2 separate regions of the Homo sapiens genome follow, and region 1 is linked to region 2. Evidence: promoter capture Hi-C in 16 types of primary human blood cells and fetal thymus (Javierre and others, 2016). All regions are on one chromosome and are shown on one strand. The core of a region is centred on a gene start or on the middle of the fragment in contact, and the rest is flanking DNA. Distances in the headings are between cores, read along the strand shown.

The links. Contacts are between HindIII fragments. The CHiCAGO score rates a contact against its expected background, and 5 or more counts as called.
Region 1: a contact is called between a fragment that was not itself captured here and the fragment with the promoter of RASGRF2 in region 2, in 1 of 17 cell types (endothelial precursors). The highest score is 5.9, in endothelial precursors.

The regions. Positions count from the first base shown.
Region 1 is chr5:80,700,028-80,705,020 of GRCh38, forward strand. All of the region lies in intron 8 of MSH3 (mutS homolog 3), which reads left to right. Among named protein-coding and RNA genes, the nearest start is that of DHFR, 48 kb to the left of the region's middle. The HindIII fragment of the contact is 2,021 bases long and covers 1,595-3,615 here.
Region 2 is chr5:80,956,634-80,961,645 of GRCh38, forward strand. It overlaps RASGRF2 (Ras protein specific guanine nucleotide releasing factor 2), which reads left to right and starts at 3,730. Exons shown (of 27, transcript NM_006909.3): 1 at 3,730-4,393. The coding sequence starts at 4,106. It overlaps RASGRF2-AS1 (RASGRF2 antisense RNA 1), which reads right to left and starts at 4,274. Exons shown (of 4, transcript NR_105015.1): 1 at 4,148-4,274. RefSeq lists enhancers at 222-742, 3,833-4,554. The HindIII fragment of the contact is 16,452 bases long and covers 475-5,012 here.

The sequences.
Region 1 (4,993 bases), core at 1,355-3,854, 260 kb before region 2:
TTCATTATGTTTATTAGACGGTAGTTTCACTTAACTATTTAGATAATCTAGAATTAGAAAATAAATTGTGGGCCTGGCAGGGTGGCTCATGCCTAAAATCCGAGCACTTTGGGAGGCTGAGGCGGGTGGATCACTTGAGGTCCGGAGTTCAAGGTCAGCCTGGCCAACATGGTGAAACCTCATCTCTACTAAAAATACAAAAAATTAGCTGGGCATGATGGCACGTGCCTGTAATCCCACCTTCTCAGGAGGCTGAGGCAGGAGAATTGTTCGAACCTGGGAGGCAGAGGTTGCAGTGAGTCGAGATCTCCCCACTGCACTCCAGTCTGGGCGACAGAACAAATCAATTCTGGTAGTAGAGATGGTAGTGACTAAATGGAAGAAATAAATCTCATATGCTGTAGGAAAATGTTTGCCACTGGGAAACCATTTAAAGAGGAAGTGTTATTAGTATTAAAAAATCTGTCATTTTGAAATTTCTTTTTAAAAATTACATTAATTTCTTCCCTGGTGGTAATGCCATTGTATTTTCAGTAGGTTTTTTTTTTAGTCCTGATACTTTTTGTATATCTAGCTAGCAATTTTAATGGATGTGCTTAACTCATGAAAATCCAGATTTTAAAACATGATAAGTTAATAGGTGATAGTTATTTTATAAGAACATTTGCCATGAGTTTATTTAAAGAATGAGAGCTTCTTTGTGCATTTTCATCAAGTGCATTCTCCTCAGGAATATATCTCCTTGAAAAGAAAAAATGGGGTGTATTTGCAGTAGGTTTATTGATAGTCGAATAGGAAGAAACAGCATTTGAGAAGTGTGGAGAAAAGATCTTCCTGATTACTACAGAGACCTCCTAAAGTGGGGCCAGACTGCTTGAACAGAAAGTTTGGAAGCAATTGTGTGAGGTGTGCTGCATTTGTTTTACTAATTCGACTTGATTTTTGTAAATACACCTGTTCATTTGGGTTTGAGGATTTAATTGCATAAAGACTCTTTATTTAGCTAAAGCGTCTTGTCCTCATGGCTTTTCCCAGAAGTTTGTGTTATAAATGTTAATATATTAAAAGTGCTTTTAAATGATTTATTATTAGCATCTTAAAAAAATCCTACACTAAATATTAAAGTAGTCTTTATTATTTCAGGTGAAGGCAAAGGGAAACAGTACGAGTTGCAAGGTAGGGGGTAAATGGAAAGGAAGAAAAAGGAAAGACAGGAGATGAAGGGAAAGATTGAGTCCCATCATTCTTGAAGACACATTGTTCATGGCTTCAATAACCCTGGCACAGCCCTCTGAAGAAAGTGTAGTTATCCTCTTCTTTCTGCAAGGAGGCAGAGATGCTGTGAACCTCTCTTGAAGTTACAGGATCACTTAGGTAGTAAGTGGCAAAGCCCACTAGAGCCCTAACCCTGTTTGATACTGGTGAGTTCACCTGCTATCATTAAGGTGTAACCTGACAGCAATGTAAAAGACAAAAATCCCCCTTCACTGAACTCCAAATACAGTTACTGTCTGTCCTCAGGATCTCTTTATTTTTTTCTTCTCCTTTTCATGGTTCAAGGAGAGATCCCTTTTAATCTCTTCCCTTCCAGCAAAGCTTCCTTTCACTTTCTACCTGAAGTCAAAAACTTGAGGCCAGCTTAGTTCAGAGCTCCTCTGGGCTTGCTTATCTCCCAGCCTTTGTGGACTCCTTCTTGTCCATTTGTCTTTGTAATGACTTCTTCCTGTCGAACCTCCCTGCTGAAGGGAGACTTCTTACTAATTTCTCTTATTTTCCCTGCTTGCTTGCTTTGAGATTATTTTCTTATCTCTTGTTTTCAGGCCAGGAATTTCTTCCTCCTGCCAGCTTTTTTGTGAATCCTTTTTAACCTCTGGCCCAAGTCTTGATCCCTAAAGCAGTAAAAGCCTATGGAGGCCTGGTATGGTTTTTCTGTACAGTTTTTCCTCCCTCCCTTCTTTTTCTACCCTTCTTTCTGAAAAAACAACAGAAACAAAAAAAACCCAAAAACCCTCTGATACTTGATTTTGTATCAATAATCAATATACATTAATATAAAATTTATTAATATAAATTGACTTAATATACACAATACTGAGTTTTTTCCAGGCTTTTGTGGAAGCTCCCCACTGCAGTCCAGAATGCTCCGTGACCAGGTCCTAGGATTCTTTCCCTTGGTGCCATTGTGACTGCTCCCTTATTTTATACCTTCAGCTCTGTCCAGTTCTCTTCTTGGCCTGGCTGAGCTGGGCTCTGCACCTCATGGGAGTGGACATGAATCCTGAACACACCATGTGGGTGTACTGGGTTGTCCCCAACCTTAATGTGAAGGCAAGTTTAGAGAAGAATGCATGATGAGTGGGCTTGCATGCCTCCCTGATGGCCATATGGGAGCATGACCACACCACAGGGTTAGTCCTTACCTGGTGGGAGCCACTGGGAGCAGAGGAGTGCTAGGTATCGCATGGCATATTTAAGATAGTTTGTGTCCAGCCATGACATTTCAAGTGCTCATTAACTGCATGTGGTTAGTAGCTACTGTATAAGGCAATGTAGTTTTATAGACAGTAGCACAGCTGTATGCAAGAGATGGGCCTAGAAAGACAGGTAACACTTAACTAGACAGATTTGGGGGAAAATACATTCCTCAATGAAAGCAAAGTTTAAACAAGGTTGAAATAATTTATTTAAAAAAAAAAATAGCTGGCTGGGTGCAGTGGCTCACGCCTGTAATCCCAGTACTTTGGGAGGCTGAGGAAGGTGGATCGCTTGAGCTCAGGAGTTTGAGACCAGCCTGGGCATCATGGTAAATCCCTGTCTTTACTAAACATACAAAAATTAGCTGCGCATGATGGCAAGCAGCTGTAGTCCCAGCTAATTGGGAGGCTGAGGCAGGAGAATCACTTGAACCCGGGTGGCTGAGGTGGCAGTGAGCCGAGATCATGCCACTGCACTCCTCCCTGGGCGACAGAGCGAGACAAGCAACAGCAACAAAACAAAAATAAAAACAGCTAATGAAGTTCTTATTATGTACCTGGTACATTCTGCCATTACTGAAATTAACTGATGTCATCTTCACAACAATCCTTTGAGGTGATTACAATTATTATTTAATATGTCCATAATAAATGACAGGTTTAGGAATGTACATTTGAATTGTGGTTCTGACTGAAACATTGGGCAGTTGAGGAAGTACTTGATAAAGTGATTAGTGCCCTTTTTAAGTGTGAGCAATTTCTAGTTGCTAAGTCAGGGTATCATTTATGTATGAATTACCTTATAGGTAAGTATACTTTACATTCTTTTATGTAACTCCTAACTATCAACCTCCAGATATCACAAAGTTTACTTGTGGGTGATTAAATTGCTTAAGACAAGAGATTGCCCACCCATACAGAATTTCTATTGCTTCTGCCTTCCAGAGAACAGTGGGAGCAGCCTGGCCTGCAGGTTGATTGTCAGATTCTGCCTCCCTCCCACCTACTTATTCCTCCAGAGAGACACATAGCTTAGCCTCCTGTCACACTCTGTCATTTTCCTGGGGCTGCAGAGCAAAGGGCTCCCTCAGGTTAATTCTGAAGTCCTGTGTATGCTGAAGTCTGCTTGAAGAAGGAGAGAAGCTTCCATCTTGCATATTTCCTAATACTTTATCTTTCCTTCTGTAACAACAGTGCACAGATTTTACTTCAGGAATGTGTTTTTATTCACTCCTGCTGTTATCCTGTATACTAAAGTAGTCCTTTGTCAATGTGCTGATGTGCTCTAGAAACATATAAAGAGTTTTTTTTTTAATTGGTTTGTTGACTGGACGTAAACACTAGTATAACACTAAATCTAAGTGCAGAGAGTGGGCAGCCTGATTTTGTTCATAATCTCAGGGGAATCTTTTATAATGGGCCAGGAAGCACGTGTCTGTGGTTTCTGCATAGGGCGTGTTCTGTGGTGCCCAGCCAGCTGTAGTATGTCCTGCGAGATTTGGCCTGCAGGCCACAATGGTGGGCTTCTGGGAGGAAGAATCTTCCTTAGAAGTCCTGCCCTTTGACACTCCTTCTGCTGAAGTGTCCTGATCTCAGTGGGGCTCCCTGATTTTCTGTTCCGGGGTCTATCAGCACTGGGTCTATCAGTGCTACCCACGCCGCCGTGACTGTGGGTCACTGAGGGTGACCTGCGTGGGTCCCATGGGCTCAGCCTGGCCTTCCCAGGTCCTACAAGGTCCTCCTTACTGTCCGTCCCTGCTCAGTCACCAAAGAATGACTTTTTTGAAAGTACAATTCCAGAGTTAAATACTGGCTAAGTGTAGAAAACAATACTGGAATTCAGTCTTCACCTCCACCAGTCCTCATGGTGAGATGAAGTGTTTATGGGTTTCTTTGTTGTAACCTCAAAAGTGGAATGCATTTCCTGGTTGGTGCTGCTTGCCCTCCAGGTGCTTAGTGAGTGAAGCTTCATCTTCCAGATTTCTCTTTGTGGCTTAGGGTATCTGTATGATTTTCCTGCTTTTGTTTTCAGAGGTGCTAGGCTGTGCTGATCTCTCTGGAGTGATTATGGTGCTTTTTGCCTGGTAAGCCCATCCTTATGTGTAAAAATCAGGATTTAGATGTGAGGCAAATAAGGTGGTGGTGATTTTGTTTTACAGAGAGATTTTCACTTTGCAAACTTTTAGACCTTTTCAAATTCTAATTTGATTTGATGTATTTAAATAACAAGTTATGTAAAAACATTGAAATGACCCATTTTACAGAAGTTTGGTTTACAAACCCATTGTTTGTGTAAGGTAACATACCTGAGGCCAGGAGCATGATACCTTTCCTCTAGTCTTGCCCTTGTCCCTCGCTTTGGGCTCCAGCTACATCAGAGTAATTGCCATGCTCACAACCCCATACAGTGAGAGCACAGAATAATGGTCTGGGTACAGTCTGGGGCCAGACAGCCTGTGTTTGGACTCTATTTTTCTTACTACCTGTGAATCTTAACCTCTCCATGGCTCAGTTTCCCC
Region 2 (5,012 bases), core at 2,480-4,979:
CAGCCCATGTACATTTTACTAACAAAACAGAGTTTAGGAGAAAGAAAAAAAAAATTAAAACCTACCTTGTGCATCTGAATACTAAGGCATGAGTTAGGGATTTTGAAAAGCTGTAGGTTAGGTTGTGCACTCCCCACTCCCCTAAACTTCAAAGCTTTAGACAATTCAGATAAAATTTCCCCTCCCACCTTTCCTTCCTCCCTCCTTCCGTCCTTTCTTTCCTCTTTCCCTCCTTCCCTCCCTTCCTTCCTTTTCTCATCAAATTATCTGAATAATGTCTCCCTCTCTATTTAGTAGAGTTTCCAGGTATGACAGCTCATTGCTATTTTTCCCCTCTTAACTTATCTAGAAAAGGGGAAAGAGGCCACTTGCACTGTGATCATATGCTTTGTTGCCCATAAAAAATTTTTTTAAACTGGCCCGCTCAAGAAAGAATCCACGCAATGCAAGAAGGAAAAACAATGAATTCAGAGAAGCTTGTTCCCATCCACTTGGAACGCAGTCTCTTTTTGGCAATCTATTTGATCAGCTGGGGGAAAGCATTCTTATTTACATAAACTCCTGATCCTTTGTGTTTCAGGATGGCACCATTCCAGGGATGTGGTTTCCATATGAATGGAGACTAAAGGCCCCCAGGTGCCCATCAGACACCTAATAGAGATAGCTTCTCTAGGCTGTCCAGGAATGTCTGGTTGTTTTCATCTCTTACAATCTTGCAGAATGATCTAATATTTGCAAATGCTTATGCCCTCTTTAACAATTCAATGACCAAATAAGAAATTAATTTAGAAAATAATTGTCTGAAAAACTTGTATGCCTACTGCATATAAACTCTCCTACTGGGTGCTACAGGGATTACAGAGATAGCTCGGCACTTGAGAAACAGACAGGTGAGAAGAAGCACCTAAACATTAATCTTCTTCCTGGCTGGGTGGTGTCGTACTTACAATCCCAGGACTTTGGGAGGCCAAGGCAGGAGGGTTACTTGAGACCAGGAGTTTGAGACCAGCCTGGGTAACATGGTGAGACCTCTGTCTCTACAAAAAGTAAACAAAACCTAACCAGGTGTGGTAGTGCACACCCATAGTCTTAGCTACGCTGGAGGCTGAGGCAGGAGGATTGCTGGAGCCCAGGAGTTTGAGGCTGCAGTGAGCTATGACTTCAGCCTGGGCAACAGAGGAAGAACCTCTCTCTAAAGAAAAAAAGAAAGAAAGAGAGAGAGAAAGAGACAGAGAGAGAGAGAGAGAGAGAGAGAGAGAGAGAGAGGGAGGGAGGAAGGGAAAGAAAAGAAGAAAGAAAGAAATTCTCTTCCTCTTACACTGAGCACACCAGGAACACAGGCAATGCTTTTTCTCTATATGCTCTACATCACCTAAATATAGTGTTGAGGACATAAACTAGTGATCAATAAATGGTTCTTGCAGTGAATTTCCATAATCAAAACCCACGGTAATCACCAGCCAAATTTTGCAGGAAACAAGCACTCCTTTCTCTCATTGTCCAGGGGCAGAGCAGATGGGGTGGCATATAAGGGCCACATAACCTTCCGTGGTAGGAAGTGATGTCAGACAAGAGGTTGTGAATATTTCATGTGGTTCAAATGAAAAGCACATTTAAGGAGACAGAGATGGTAACTGAGACATTGCTTATTGAAGAAGAGAATCTTTCACATCTGAAAAAACTCAAGTGCGTTAGAAGGTTTGACTACTCATGGCAAAATAGTTTTTGTGCTGATTTCACACTCTTACTGGTTTCTACTAAAAAAATGGAGCTTATCAACCACACAGGTGTCTACTCACTTACGGTTCTCACAGCTGGGATTGGACCACAGAGAAAGAAATAAAAGGCCTCCTGAGGCAATCACCAGCTCCTCTGCATCTAGAATCTGGCTCCAAAATGTTGCCTGCATTTACTTACTGTCTCTGTACTTGTGTCTTCTCTGAAGAACAATGCAAACTTCCAGCTGGGTTAAACCCAATTTAGCACAGCACTGTCCTTTAGATATTTTTAAAAACGTAAAGAGAAATGACCACTGTTCTCACGCTGTAATTTCAAAATGGCAATTTCCCTACTATATACTTGTTAAAAGTGAAAATTTTTTAAAAAGGTAAAAGGAAAAAAAAACCCCACTCAGCTGCTCAGTGAGGCAGAGTTAAAATATTCTGCAGAAACAGCACTTATGAAACAGGCAGAACCCCTGGGGCTACCAATTCATGAACACACAACTGGCAGTACAAGACAGGTGTATTGTCGTAGACTCATCACCCAGAAAAGCATTATTATTTACTTTTAACAATAAACATTTTATGATGGCACTCCGTTTTAGTGATAAATGACTGGGGAAAATAAAAAATGTGTATAGCAGAATCAAATATAGGCCCTCCCCGGGGGTTTCACTGGCTTTCTCTCACAGCTGCTGGCTACATTATTTCTTTTCCACTTACATTTTTACAGCATGGGGTTGGGGCGGGGGGGTGGCTCTTGGTTTTCTGGTTGTACCTGTCAGATTTGTTAATCAAATGAATCCAGTCCTACAAACGATGAGCCTGTGACAGCTGGCCTTTGGGGTTGGATTCTGCCCTGGGCAGCAAAGTGTCCCTTATTTGGGTATTTTTTTCCAGGTTGAAAACTCGGCACTTAAAATTTAGCATCTTACCACTGTGAAATAACAGGCATTCCGAAAGAACTTCGGCATCTGATGCCTTTCCGGGAACACTTGGGCCACTCTCCTTAACCTTTACCGGCAGTTTTAAATACTACAATGCAGGTACAAGCAGAAAAGCCAAGGATGCGGGCTATGCAAAGCCACTCTGTGACTCTACCTACTGCCATGGGAACGTACTTATGGATGTGGCATGTGAGTGTGTGTGTATGTGTGAGTGGGTTTGTGAAAGTGTGTGGATTCGTGCGAATACGTGTGTGAGTGCTTTGTGTGTATTTTTGGATGAATTTGTGAATGTACATGTGTGTTCATCTGTGTGTGTGTTTGATTATCTGCTTATGAGTCTGTATGATTGTGAACGTGTGAGTATATGTGTGCTGTTTGTGTGACTGTATGAGTGTAATGTGTGTATGAATGTATGTTTGAATGTGGGTTTGAGTGAATGTGTGGGTTGTGTGTGAATGTGTGTGTAAGTGAGCATATCACTGCGTGCATGTGTGTAGCTCCTTAAGTGTGTATCTGAATGTGGGTTTTATTTTTGTGCGCGGGAACGCACATTGTGGGTGTATTTGTCTATATGCATTTGTGCGTTGTGACTGTGTGTTGAGTGTGAGCGTTGTGAGAATGTGTATTTGTGTGTCATGAGTGTGTGCGCGTGTGTTTTTGTGCATATGTGCGCGCATTGTGTTTGTGTGCATTTGTGAGTGTATTTTTGTGCGTCTGAGTGTGTGCATTGTGGATCTGGGTGAATGTACTGGTCTGCGTGTGTGTGGGTGTGCGTGTGTGTGTGCGCGCGTTGTGCGCGAGTGTGCGAGCGCGTGTGAGCGGGTGTGTGGTGCGGCCGGGCGCCTCCACCTCCCTGATCCGCCCCATCCCGGCGGGCGCCCGAGCAGAGGCAGCGGCCCGGGCCGGGGCGGGCGAGGGAGGGACGCGAGCCGGGGCAAGCGGGCTGCGCCACCGCCGGCGCCGCGCCGACTTTGCCCTTTAAATCGGTCTCCAAGCCGATTACAGCTGAGCTCCCACGTGACGTTTTACCTTCTGTCTCCCGGAGCGCGTTGCCCGAGGACAGTCCTTCCCCGGCTGCCGCCCCAGCCCGCCGCGGGGGCTCGGCTCCCGCAACTTTGGGCGAAGCGGCGGCCGGCTCGGGCGCCCTCGCGGGGCCGCGCTCCACGCGGGCGTTGGGGGCTTGGGGGGCTCCGGGGGCTCGGCCGGGAGGGTGGTGGTTAGGGCGGAGAGCGTGCCTCGGCCCCAGCCCGCGCCCCTGCCACCGCGCGCCGCGGCCTCCCGAAAGCGGGCGGGGTGCCCTGCGCGCGGCGTGGGGAAAGGGGGCGCCCTTCGCCGGCCGGGACCTGAGCGGTCGCGCCCTCGAGGGAGCCAGCTGGGCCATGGCCGCGAGGCAGGGGTGAGACCGGCGGCCACCCGTGAGCCCTCCGCACCCGCACCATGCAGAAGAGCGTGCGCTACAACGAGGGGCACGCCCTGTACCTGGCCTTTCTGGCGCGCAAGGAGGGCACCAAGCGCGGCTTCCTGAGTAAGAAGACGGCCGAGGCGAGCCGCTGGCACGAGAAGTGGTTCGCCCTCTACCAGAATGTGCTCTTCTACTTCGAGGGCGAGCAGAGCTGCCGCCCGGCGGGCATGTACCTCCTGGAGGGCTGCAGCTGCGAACGAACGCCCGCGCCACCCAGGGCCGGCGCCGGGCAGGGAGGCGTCCGAGACGCGCTGGACAAGCAGGTACCGCGCGCCTTCTCTCCGCGGTCTCCCAGCCTTGATCGCCGCACTCCCTTGCCGTCCTAATCCGGGGATCAGGGGTCGGGGGTCGTGAAAGAGTGCGGGGACTATGCTCCGAAATCCCCCCGCGTCACCAGTGGCGGGACATCTCCACGCTCCTTCCGATCTTCATCCAGGGATTCTCCCATCTCCATACCCCTCCACCCCACTGCCAAGTGATCAGTCAGAATAGTGGCCCGACTTGCTTTCATTACCCTGGTAGAGGTCGAGTCGTTTCAGCTTCTCTGCCAACCATCTATTGCTTCTCTAGACCTGGCTCGCCAGATTTTTGTCTGGTGACATGTATTGACACCTGTTGGGTGTAGATTGGCAAGACGGAACTAACTTATTTGGAAAAGTTTGATTTCTGCCATACCCGGCTGGCGCGTGTAGATTTCTTTGCCTGCAGATGTTTGACCACTGGTTGGGCTGGGAACAAGCGGGGCTCCCAAGCCGGACAGACACTTTCTGTTGGTCATTTTCAATCAGTCTTTGTGATTTCGGTCAGTTGGCCTTGCTAACATTTGACCTGCTGGGTGTAATTATGAAGGTAAATGTGTATTCATATTCCTCAGGATTAATA